Regions from separate parts of the Homo sapiens genome. Here region 2 is linked to region 1. The links are contacts of gene promoters, found by promoter capture Hi-C in blood cells and fetal thymus (Javierre and others, 2016). All regions are on one chromosome and are shown on one strand. Each heading gives the region's core, a stretch centred on a gene start or on the middle of the fragment in contact. The rest is flanking DNA. Distances are from core to core; before and after follow the strand shown.

Region 1 (5,420 bases), core at 1,206-3,705:
TTACCTACAGAATCTCACTCAATTCTCACAACAAATATGCAAAAATTAATTATTCTTATTTTATAGATGAGGAAACTTTGGCTCTGATCGACCTGACCATGTAACTTGCCCAAAGTGACACAGCTGGAAAGCAGCAGAGCAAGTCTGTTTATTTATTTATTTATTGGAGACAAGGTCTCAACTTTGTTGCCCAGGCTGGAGTGCAGTGGTGCAATCGTGGCTCGCTGCAGCCTCAACCTCCTGGGCTCAAGTGATTCTCCTCCCTTAGCTTCCTGAGTACCTGGGACTACAAGTGCACATCACCATGCCTGGCTAATTTTTTAAATTTTTTTGTAGAGACAGGGTCTCACTATGTTGCCCAGGCTGGTCTTGAACTCCTGGCCTCAAGAGATGTTCCTGCCTTGGTCTCCCAAAGTGCTGGGATTACAGGTGTGAACCACAGTGCCTGTGCCTAGTGAGCAAGTTTGTTTAGTTCCAAAGTGGAGCTCTTTTCATTACACCAAGTGACAGTCTTGGGCAAATATGAAGTGGTGATGAAAAGGGAAAACCTCGAGTCCTCAGAGGCATAAACGGACAAAGATGACTCCTTTCTGAAGTGAGGAGTTATGTCCAAGGGAGATAGGACTTCAATACTATTTGAGCACTGGAAATGTGGGATTTGATGGGTTGGGAGCTGACCTTCAGGCATGACATACAGCTGTAAGAAGGCAAAAGAGGTACAAGTGTGGTGACTCCTAATTGCCTGAACCATTGCCTGAGCTTTTTTCCTGATTGTGCTTCTTGGCTCCAATCAACGCCTCACATTGCTGACAAAGATGACTTTTTAAAATACAGAGCTCATCACTGCACCCTTGCAGCTCTCAAAAGCTTACAAAGTTCCTGACTGCCTAGAAAATAAATTGCCATGCTCTGCTAAAATCTCCCTTGCAGTTTTATCTAAACCTGAACACTCACTCAATCATCAAACACCCTCCATTCAGAGGTCCTTGCCCCCATTAGCTCCCACTAGCCCCACGGGCCTAGAAAGCTGTCTGTCTCTCAGTCCTGCCTGATAATCAAAGTTAACTTCAAAGACCCCTCTTCCAAAGTTCCTCTCCTCTTTTCCCTCTGGAAATCCATAGAGCTTAGCAAAGCTACTGTGGTGGTTATTATCAGAATAGTCAGTGTCTCTGATAGGAAGCCAGTGACATACTACTGGGAAGTACAGCACACTGGTTTAGAGCCTCCTATTCAAACCGTGGTCCTCAGACCAGCAGCAGCAGTGTTTGAGCGCTTGTTGTTAACATCAAGTTCCTCCCCAGACCTCATGAATCAGGATCCGCTTTTTTTTTTTTTTTGAGACAGGGTCTCACTTTGTTGCACAGGTTGGAGTGCAATGGTGCAATCTCGGCTTACTGCAACCTCTGCCTTCCAGGCTCAAACGACCCTCCTGCCTCAGCCTCCCTCAGCCTGGGACCACAGGCGTGCACCACCACGCCCGGCTAACTTTTGTATTTTTTTGTAGGGACGGGTTTTCGCCCTATTGCCCATACTGGTATCGAATTCCTGAGCTCAGGCGATCCGCCCGCCACGGCCTCCCAAGGCGCTGGGATTACAGGTGTGAGCCACCTCGCGCAGCCCAGAATCCGAATTTTAACAAGACACCTATGCTATTCGTATGCACATTAAGTTTGAGAAGCACTGGTGTCCAATATCCATTCAGAGGTCAAAAAAAAAAAAAACCAAGCTCTGCTACTTAATAGCCATATGACCTTGGGCAAGCTGCTGTTAATCTGTTAGGCTCGGTTTCCTCGTTGTGAATAATACATCCCTAAAAGTGTTTTAAGGCCGAAATGCTATCAATAATGCCCACAGTGTGAGTAGTGCATGGCATGGAGTCATGGCTCATTTGCGCACACAGCACAACACGAACTGAGGAGAGTAGTTTCGGGTCCTTCACAGACTCAGTTCCTGCTTCACTGCACCTCAGTTTCTTCAAGTGCCAAATGACACTCTGGCTCTGCTTGATTCTAAAGAGCTAATGGGGCGCGGACTCCCCGGAAAGGCGAGATGGGGCCAGCTAGGCAAAAAGGCACGGAAAAGCAGAGCACCTCAGGGGGGCCTACGGCCGGGCCAGTCTGCAGCCCTACGACCCCTTCTCCTCCCAGCCGATCCCGGCCGCGCAGCACTCACCAGCCGTCGCGATCGGCCTCCGCCGGATTAGGTTATCAATCAGGCCGGAGCAGTAGCCCAAGAAGCCGATGTAGAGGAGCCGCGGGTCGGTCAGCTTGGGCGGGGGCAGGCTCCGGGCCTCATCCGGCAGAAACCGTAAGGGTTCTGGGTTCCGCCGTGCGATCATGGTGACGCCGTTTCCACTTGAGGCCTGGTCTCAGACCACGAACTACAAGGAAAACCACGACGACCACTACCCCGGCCTAAGCGGTCAGCTTTCTCCTCCTCCTCTGCGCGCCGGACTCACGGGCACGGCGCAGCGCGGTGCAGCGCCCAAACGCTTCCCGGTACGTGTTGCTGCGGGAACCCGGCACGCGAAGTTCCGGGCTACTAAGTTTCACTTTGCTCGTCCGCCCGCGCTAATTCTCTGGTGGGAGTGGGATTCACGGGCCTGGTAACGCGGGGTCGAGGAGTACCCCAAACGAGCCAAACTGGGCGAAGACTAGGAGATACTGATTTTCTTTTCTCCCAACTTCCCCAACCAGAATTGCCTCTCCCTCCCCTGCCCCTTCTGGAAAGATTTATCTTTTCATCCAATACCCACAAATGGGCATGATGCGTAGTTTTGATAAACGTAATTAATTGAAATTCCATAAAAGCTAGTTTTCGTTTTCTGAGTTTTCAGTCGTTCATTCGCATAGACACTCCCTCCAAAGCCTAAAATTAAGGTCTGGCCAGCAACAAAAGAATTTAGAGAAGCCCAGGACTGGATCGTTTTAGTCTATTGTTGAAATTCAGATTCGGAGGCAGCACCCTAAAATGTTTCACCTCTGGGTCTTCACGTCGTTACACATGGCTGAGTGAGGAGGTGTTCCCTAAAGGTTTGAGTAATGAGGCCAGGCGCCGTCACTCACGCCTGTAATCCCATCACTTTGGGAGGCTGAAGTGAGCGGATCACTTCAGGAGTTCAAGACCAGCTTGGCCAACATGGTGAAATCCCATCTCTACGAAAAATACAAAAAATTAGCTGGGCGTGGTGGCGGGTGCCTGTAGTCCCAGCTACTGGGAAGGCTGAGGCAGCATAATCGGCTGCTCGGGAAGCTGAGGGGGGAGAATCGCTTGAACCTGGGAGGTGGAGGTTGCAGTGAGCCGAGATCGCACCATTGCATTCCAGCCTGGTCAACAAGAGCGAAACTTCGTCTCAAAAAGAAAAAAAAAAAGGTTTGAGTAATGAAAGAAGGAATTTATAATTCTGTTAAGCAATTTTCCAGTCTCTGCTGTCAGGCCTCTCAGCCGAAGCTCAACCATTGTAACCCCTGTGACTTGCACATATGCGTCCAGATGGCCTGCGGGAGCCAAGAAGTCTGGGGCAGCCAAAAACCCACAAAAGAAGTAAAACAGCCACTTCCTGCCTTAACTGATTAACAAACATTCCACCATTGTGACTGGTCCCTGCCCTACCTTAACTGATCAACCATCCTTGTGACATTCTTCTTCTGGACAATAAGTCTTATGATCTCCCCATCATGTACCTTGTGACCCCCTCCCCTGCTAACAATAGATAACAACCACCTTTTACTGTAATTTTCCATTACCTACCTAAATCCTATAAAGCAACCCCTTCCCCATCTCCCTTCATTGATTCTCTTTTCGGACTCAGCCCACTTGCACCCAAGTGAATAAACAGCCTTGTTGCTCACACAAAGCCTGTTGGTGGTCTCTTCACACGGATGCATTTGACATTTGGTGCTATGACTTGGATCGGGGGACCTTCCTTGGGAGATCAATCCCCTGTCCTCCCGCTCTTTGCTCCGTGAGGAAGATCTACCTACGACCTCGGGTCCTCAGACCAGCCCAAGGAACATCTCACCAATTTTAAATCGGGTAAGTGGCCTCTTTCTACTCTCTTCTTCAACCTCTTTCACTATCCCTCAACCTCTTTCTCCTTTCAATTTCGGCACCACCCTTCAGTCTCTCCCTTCCCTTAATTTCGGTTCCTTTCCCTGTCTGGTAGAGACAGAGGAGACCCGTTTTATCTGTGGACCCAAAACTCTGGCGCTGGTCATGGACTCGGGAAGACTGTCTTCCCTTGTGTTTAGTCACTGCAGGGACGCCTGCCTGATTATTCACCCACATTTCAGAGGTGTTCGATCACTGCGGGGACACCTGTTTTGATCTTCCACCTTGGTGGCAAGTACCACTTCCCCTGGGTGGCAAGTACCACCCCCCCTCTCTCCATGTCTCAACCTCCTCCTTTCTCTAAACTTACCTTTTTACTATGGGCAACCTTCAGCCCTCCATTCCTTCTTCTTCCTCTCTTAGCCTGTGTTCTTAAAAACTTAAAACCTCTTCAACTCTCACCTGACCTAAAACCTAAGTGTCTTATTTTCTTCTGCAACACCACTTGGCCCCAATACAAACTTGATAATGGCTCTAAATGGCCAGAAAAGAGCACTTTCGATTTCTCCAGCCTACAAGATCTAGATAATTTTTGTCATAAAATGGGCAAATGGTCTGAGGTGCCCTACATCCAGGCATTTTTTACACTTCGTTCCTTCCCTAATCTCTGTTCCCAGTGCGACTTGCCGCAAATCTTCCTTCTTTCCCTCCCGCCTGTCCCTTCAGTCCCAACCTGAAGTGCCGGTGAGTCTTTTGAATATTTCTTTTCTACCGACCCATCTGACTTCTACCCTCCTCCCTAGACTGCTCCTCCTCAGGTCGCTCCCCACCAGGCTGAATCAGCTTCCAACTCTTCCTCAGCCTCCACTTCCCCACCCTACAACCCTTCTATCATCTCCCCTCCCCACACCTGGTCCAGCTTACAATTTCGTTCTGCGGCAAATACTCCCCCACCTGCCCAATAATTTCCTCTTCAAGAAGTGGCTGGAACTGAGGGCATCGTCAGAGTGCATGTACCATTTTCTCTATCAGACCTTTCCCAAATTAATCAACACTTAGGCTCCTTCTCGTCAGACCCCACCAAATATATACATGAATTCCAGTATTTAACCCAGTCTTACAATTTAACCTGGAGTGGCTTAAATGTCATCCTAATTTCTACCCTCTCCCCAGATGAATGGGAAAGAGTGTTTCCTCTAGCCTAGTCCCACACAGACACCCACTGGCATTATGAGCCAGGCCTCCAGGAAGGTATTACAGACGGTTCCCTGAGAAGATCCCCAGTGGCACTATCAGGCAGGTTCCTCAGGTATAGCTAGGTGAGATTACATGATTTCCTGCCTAGTTGAAGGGCTTAAAAAGGCAGCATA
Region 2 (5,223 bases), core at 2,166-4,665, 92 kb before region 1:
GAGTGAGACTCTGTGTCAAAAAATGAAAAAAAAAAAAAGGTAGATGGTGGTTGCCAGGGGCTGGAGGTGGGGGTGATGGAGGATTACTGTTTAATGGGGAAAGAGTTTCAGTTTTACAAGATGAAAAGAGTTCTGGAGATGGATGGTGGTGATGGCTGCATAACAATATGAATGTACTTAACACACATGAACTGCACACTTAAAATGGTTAAGATAATAAATTTTAATTGTTACCACAATTAAGAAATGATTAGCCAGGCATGGTGGCACATGCCTATAGTTCCAGCTACTTAGGAGGCTGAGGTGAGAGGATTGCATAAGCCTGGGAGGTGGAGGTTTCAGTGAACCATGATAGCACCACTGCACTCCAGCCTGGAGTGAGACCTTGTTAGGAAAAAAAAGGGAAAAAAGGGGGGGAAAAGAAAATAAATGTAAATGAAAAAAAAAAAAAAGCAGATAAGAGAGCATCTGACCTAGTGACATTCCTTATCCATTTGGATACTTTACTCAAGTTCTTTTACTTTCTGAAATAATCCCTTAGCACTCCTTCTACTATGACACATAAATGATCTCCTTCACACCTGAGCTAAAAACAGAATTACCTCCAGGGAAGCCTTCTCTAATAATTGTTTCTTCTGACCATTAAAACTGTCTTGGTTCAGGCTTTCATCACCTTTCCCCAAACTTACAGTCTTCTAATTGGTCACTCTAACTCCAGTCCATCCAATTCCTTTATCCTCCATACTTCCCCTCAGAGTGACATTTCTAAAACAAAAACTGACAAGGTAGAATACAAGGCCCTTTAGAATCAGATGCCTTCCAAATCTTCTGGTCTTATCTCTTGATGAGCTCCCAACCTAAAATCTGCACCAGCCAAACTAGCTGCATTTCTTCTAATGTGATAGCCTGTCTCACATCTCCATGCCCATGTTCACGGTTGCTCACAACTAAAATGTCTTTCCCCCTGTCTTCCAACTGGCCAAAATCTATTTCTAGGACTTTTCTCAAGCATCGCTACCACTCTATAATGCATTTCTGGATCCCTGCTTCCAATAATTAATCGCCCCCTTCTTTGAGGCCATATCATAACCTACCCCAGATTTCATAAGACCTGAAACACTGTATTGTTATTAATTCATTTCTTATTTACTCAAGACTCAGATCAGGGATTACATCATCTACATCTCTATTACCAACATGAAGCACAAAGCCTGGCACAGAGTAAGTATTCAGACATGCTGAGCAAATGAAAAAATAAGCAAATGGAAAACTTTAGCACTTACTATCTACATACTACATATATGGTCTGCCGACTACACTGCTAGCCCCTAAAGGACAAAGAACATATCTCACAGCTCTGCATCCTCCATAGCTACTAGCACAGTAGCATAAGTGAAGAATCAATCATGTGAAATAAGTTCAGATACTAATGCCTGATCACAAAAAAAAAGTAGGAAAAAGCAGAAGCCAGAGTAGTTTTATCCACTAAAATATTAACATAAAATACCACATTTCTGGATAGAACAGAAGAAAGGGTAAAAAACACTATGGTCAACAATCTAGAACTGGGTCCATCTGGCATCCCTCCTCATTTCCTTAGGAGCTAGGGTCCACTTGATTAATGCATGCAGCATGGACTGGTTAAAGTGCTTGAGATCTGACATCAGAACACCTGAGTTAAATTTTGCTTTTAGACATGACAAAAGATTATGTTTTTTAAGAGTCTTCGCCACATTTATGCAGCCAACAGACACATGAAAAAATGCTCACCATCACTGGTCATCAGAGAAATGCAAATCAAAACCACAATGAGATACCATCTCACATCAGTTAGAATGGCAATCATTAAAAAGTCAGGCAACAACAGATGCTGGAGAGGATGTGGAGAAATAGGAACACTTTTACACTGTTGGGAGTGTAAATTAGTTCAACCATTGTGGAAGAGAGTGCGGCAATTCCTCAAGGATCTAGAACTAGAAATACCATTTGACCCAGCAATCCCATTACTGGGTATATACCCAAAGGATTATAAATCATGCTACTATAAAGATACATGTGCACGTATGTTTATTGCGGCACTATTCACAAGAGCAAAGACTTGGAAGTAACCCAAATGTCCACCAACGATAGACTGGATTAAGAAAATGTGGCACATATACACCATGGAATACTATGCAGCCATAAAAAAGGATGCGTTCATGTCCTTCGCAGGGAAATGGATGAAGCTGAAAACCATCCTTCTCAGCAAACTATCACAAGGACAGAAAACCAAACACCGCATGTTCTCACTCATAGGTGGGAATTGAACAGTGAGAACACTTGGACACAGGGCGGGAAACATCACACACCGGGGCCTGTTGGGGAGTGGGGGGCTGGGGGAGGGATAGCATTAGGAGAAATACCTAAAGTAAATGATGAGTTAATGGGTGCAGCAAGCCAACATGGCACATGTATACACATGTAACAAACCTGCACGTTGTGCACATGTGCCCTAGAACCTAAAGTATAATAATAAAAAAAGAGTCTTCACCACTTAAAGATATAAATCAAAATTTATGATTAAAATAATATGATGCCAGGAATTTATTTTCATAAGAATCTGGTGGAGAAGGTGAGGGTAAAGAAGTAGAAGTGGATTGGGGAAGAGGGAAAATGAAACAAGTTTGGCCACAAAATGATAATTTTTGAAGCCAGGTAATGGGTACATGGGAATTAATTAAACTATTCTCTTTACTTACATAGTATATATCTGAAATGTTCCATAACAAAAGGTTTTTTAAAAAAAAAACCCAAGTTCAAATCCATACCTTCCATTTACTAGCTGGGTGACCTTGGATACTAAACAGCTCTAAGCTTAGTTCCATATCTGGAATTTAGAGATAACAATGGTGCTGTCACCAGGATTAAATAAAATATTACATATGGAAAGTGCTTTCAAACTCTAACAAGCAATATAATGTTAACTGCTCTAAGAAGTATTATTATAGATGATTATTGGTAACAGATCTTTAATATAATAATAATGGTAGATATTGCTAAGAAAAAGACTAACGGAAAATAGATCACTGAGAGATCGAAAACTTCTTGAGAACAGAAATCCTGATTTTGGTCAGATGTGGTAGCTCACGTCTGTAATCCCAATCCTTTGGGAGGGCCAAGCAGGAGGGTTGCTTGAGCTCAGGAATTCGCGACCAGCCTGGGCAACACAGAGAGACTCCATCTCTACAAAAAAAATTAAAAAGAAAAAATTAGCCGGGAGTGGTGGCATGTGCCTGTGGTCCCAGCTCCTCAGGAGGCTGAGGTGGGAGGATGGCTTGAGCCTGGGAGTCCAGACTTCAGTGGGCAGTGATCACGCCATTGCACTCTAGATTGGGCAACAGAGCAACACTCAAAAAGATGCCAGGCACAGTGGTTCATGCCTGTAATCCCAGCACTTTGGGAGGCTGAGGTAGGTGAATCGCTTGAGCCCAGGAGTTTGAGACCAACCTTGGTAACATGGTGAAACCTCATCTCTATCAAAAATATAAAAATTAGCCAGTCTCATAACCCAGTCTCTAGATAGATAGATACGATTTTTTAAAAAATTTTTTAAAGAAAAGAACAACAAAAAAAGAAAGCCTGATTTTATTCACGTAAAACATAAGTGAAACATTTATAATGTCCCTTCAATGTTCCTAGGAACCTGCCAGGCACTGGGATAGAGACTAATGGATCTGCAGCCTCTGAATTTACGGAGCTCAAAGTCTGAAGGAGATAGACACATATGGCAAACAATTGCAACGCATAAGACTTAACAATTGTGCTAATGGACACCGTCCAGTGCCCAGAACAAAGTCTGATATATATTTGTTGAGTAAAATGTATCACAAAAGCATCAATTAATTCATTTATTCATTCAACAAATATTTATTTTACCAGGCACTGTTCTTGATTCTGTAGAAACAACAATTAAAAAACATAAAAATCCCTGCTCAAGGGAAGCTTATGTTCCTGCATGGGGAAATGGACAAGGAACATAATTAACAAGAAATTATACAGAATATTAGAAGATGGTAATTACTATGGAGAAAACAAAATCAAGGAAGGGGACTAGGAAGTGCGGGGTGGGGATAGGCAGTTTCGATATGAAACAGAAGGGTAAAGGAAGACCTCAATGTAACGGTGACATTTGCATGCTGATAGCTGCAATATGAAGTACAAGTCACCATTTATAACATAGTCTTAAAATTGTCAAAAATATGCTTAACTTAAATCTAACAAAGCCTATAGATCTAACTTTCAGTTCATAGTAAATACAGAGAACAGAGGAACAAGTTAATCCTTAAAGAAGTAAATGAATTCAGAAAACAAGACATTTTACAAAAGAACTGTCTCAGTTTCTTCATCAAATCAATGTCACCAAAATAGTAACTGTTGTAGATTTTTGAAAAGACTGAATGCCATGTGGGGACCTGGTTTGCATTTTGATTTGAATACATCAACTATAAAAAGGTACTGGGAGAACAACTACAGAAATCTAAATATCAACTAATTCTTAGATGACATTAAAGAATTACTTAACTTTATTCATTAGGGTTAGGTGGCTATGTTAAAAAATAAAAAGTCCCTCTACTTTCTCATAGCAGTGAGAAAAAAAAAGAAAACAACAAAAAGGTATCCCTTTTTAATAGATATGTAATGAAATAATTAGAAAAAAATGACATATCTTTTTAAAAATTCAACAAAACAAGGCTGGGCGCGGTGGCTCACACCTGTAATCCCAGCACTTTGGGAGGCCGAGGCAGGTGGATCACCCGAGGTCTGGAATTCGAGACTAGCCTGGCCAACATGGTGAAACCCCATCTCTACTAAAAATACAGAATTAGCTGAGCGTGATGGCGCACTCCTGTAGTCCCAGCTACTTGGGAGGCTGAGGCAGGAGAACTGCTTGAACCCAGGAGTGCTATTACACTCCAGCCTGGGCAACAGAGTGAGACTCATCTCAAAAAAAATAATAACAAAATAAAATAAAATTCAGCGAAAAAATAGAGCAAATTTGGCAAAATACTAATAACTGTTAAATTCTAGGAATGGATATTTGGTAGGTCACTATAGTATTTTATCTACTTTTCCATAAGCTTAACAATTTGGGGGCTGAGTGTGGTGGTTCACACCTGTAATCTCAGCAATTTGGAAGCCCAAGGAGGGTGGATTGCTTGAGCCCAGGAATTCGAGATCAGCCTG

Evidence for each region. The method cuts DNA at HindIII sites, captures the fragments that hold promoters and counts their contacts. A CHiCAGO score of 5 or more calls a contact.
Region 2: a contact is called between a fragment that was not itself captured here and the fragment with the promoter of NDUFC2 in region 1, in 2 of 17 cell types (naive CD4 T cells and M2 macrophages). The highest score is 5.3, in naive CD4 T cells.

The regions. Positions count from the first base shown.
Region 1 is chr11:78,077,407-78,082,826 of GRCh38, forward strand. It overlaps NDUFC2 (NADH:ubiquinone oxidoreductase subunit C2), which reads right to left and starts at 2,456. Exons shown (of 3, transcript NM_004549.6): 1 at 2,173-2,456. The coding sequence starts at 2,338. It overlaps NDUFC2-KCTD14 (NDUFC2-KCTD14 readthrough), which reads right to left and starts at 2,456. Exons shown (of 3, transcript NM_001203262.2): 1 at 2,173-2,456. The coding sequence starts at 2,338. It overlaps LOC105369401 (a long non-coding RNA gene), which reads left to right and starts at 3,789. Exons shown (of 3, transcript XR_950342.2): 1 at 3,789-4,035. RefSeq lists an enhancer at 2,176-2,235 and a silencer at 2,439-2,628. The HindIII fragment of the contact is 4,740 bases long and covers 866-5,420 here.
Region 2 is chr11:77,984,477-77,989,699 of GRCh38, forward strand. All of the region lies in intron 2 of INTS4 (integrator complex subunit 4), which reads right to left. Among named protein-coding and RNA genes, the nearest start is that of INTS4, 7.6 kb to the right of the region's middle. The HindIII fragment of the contact is 1,128 bases long and covers 2,852-3,979 here.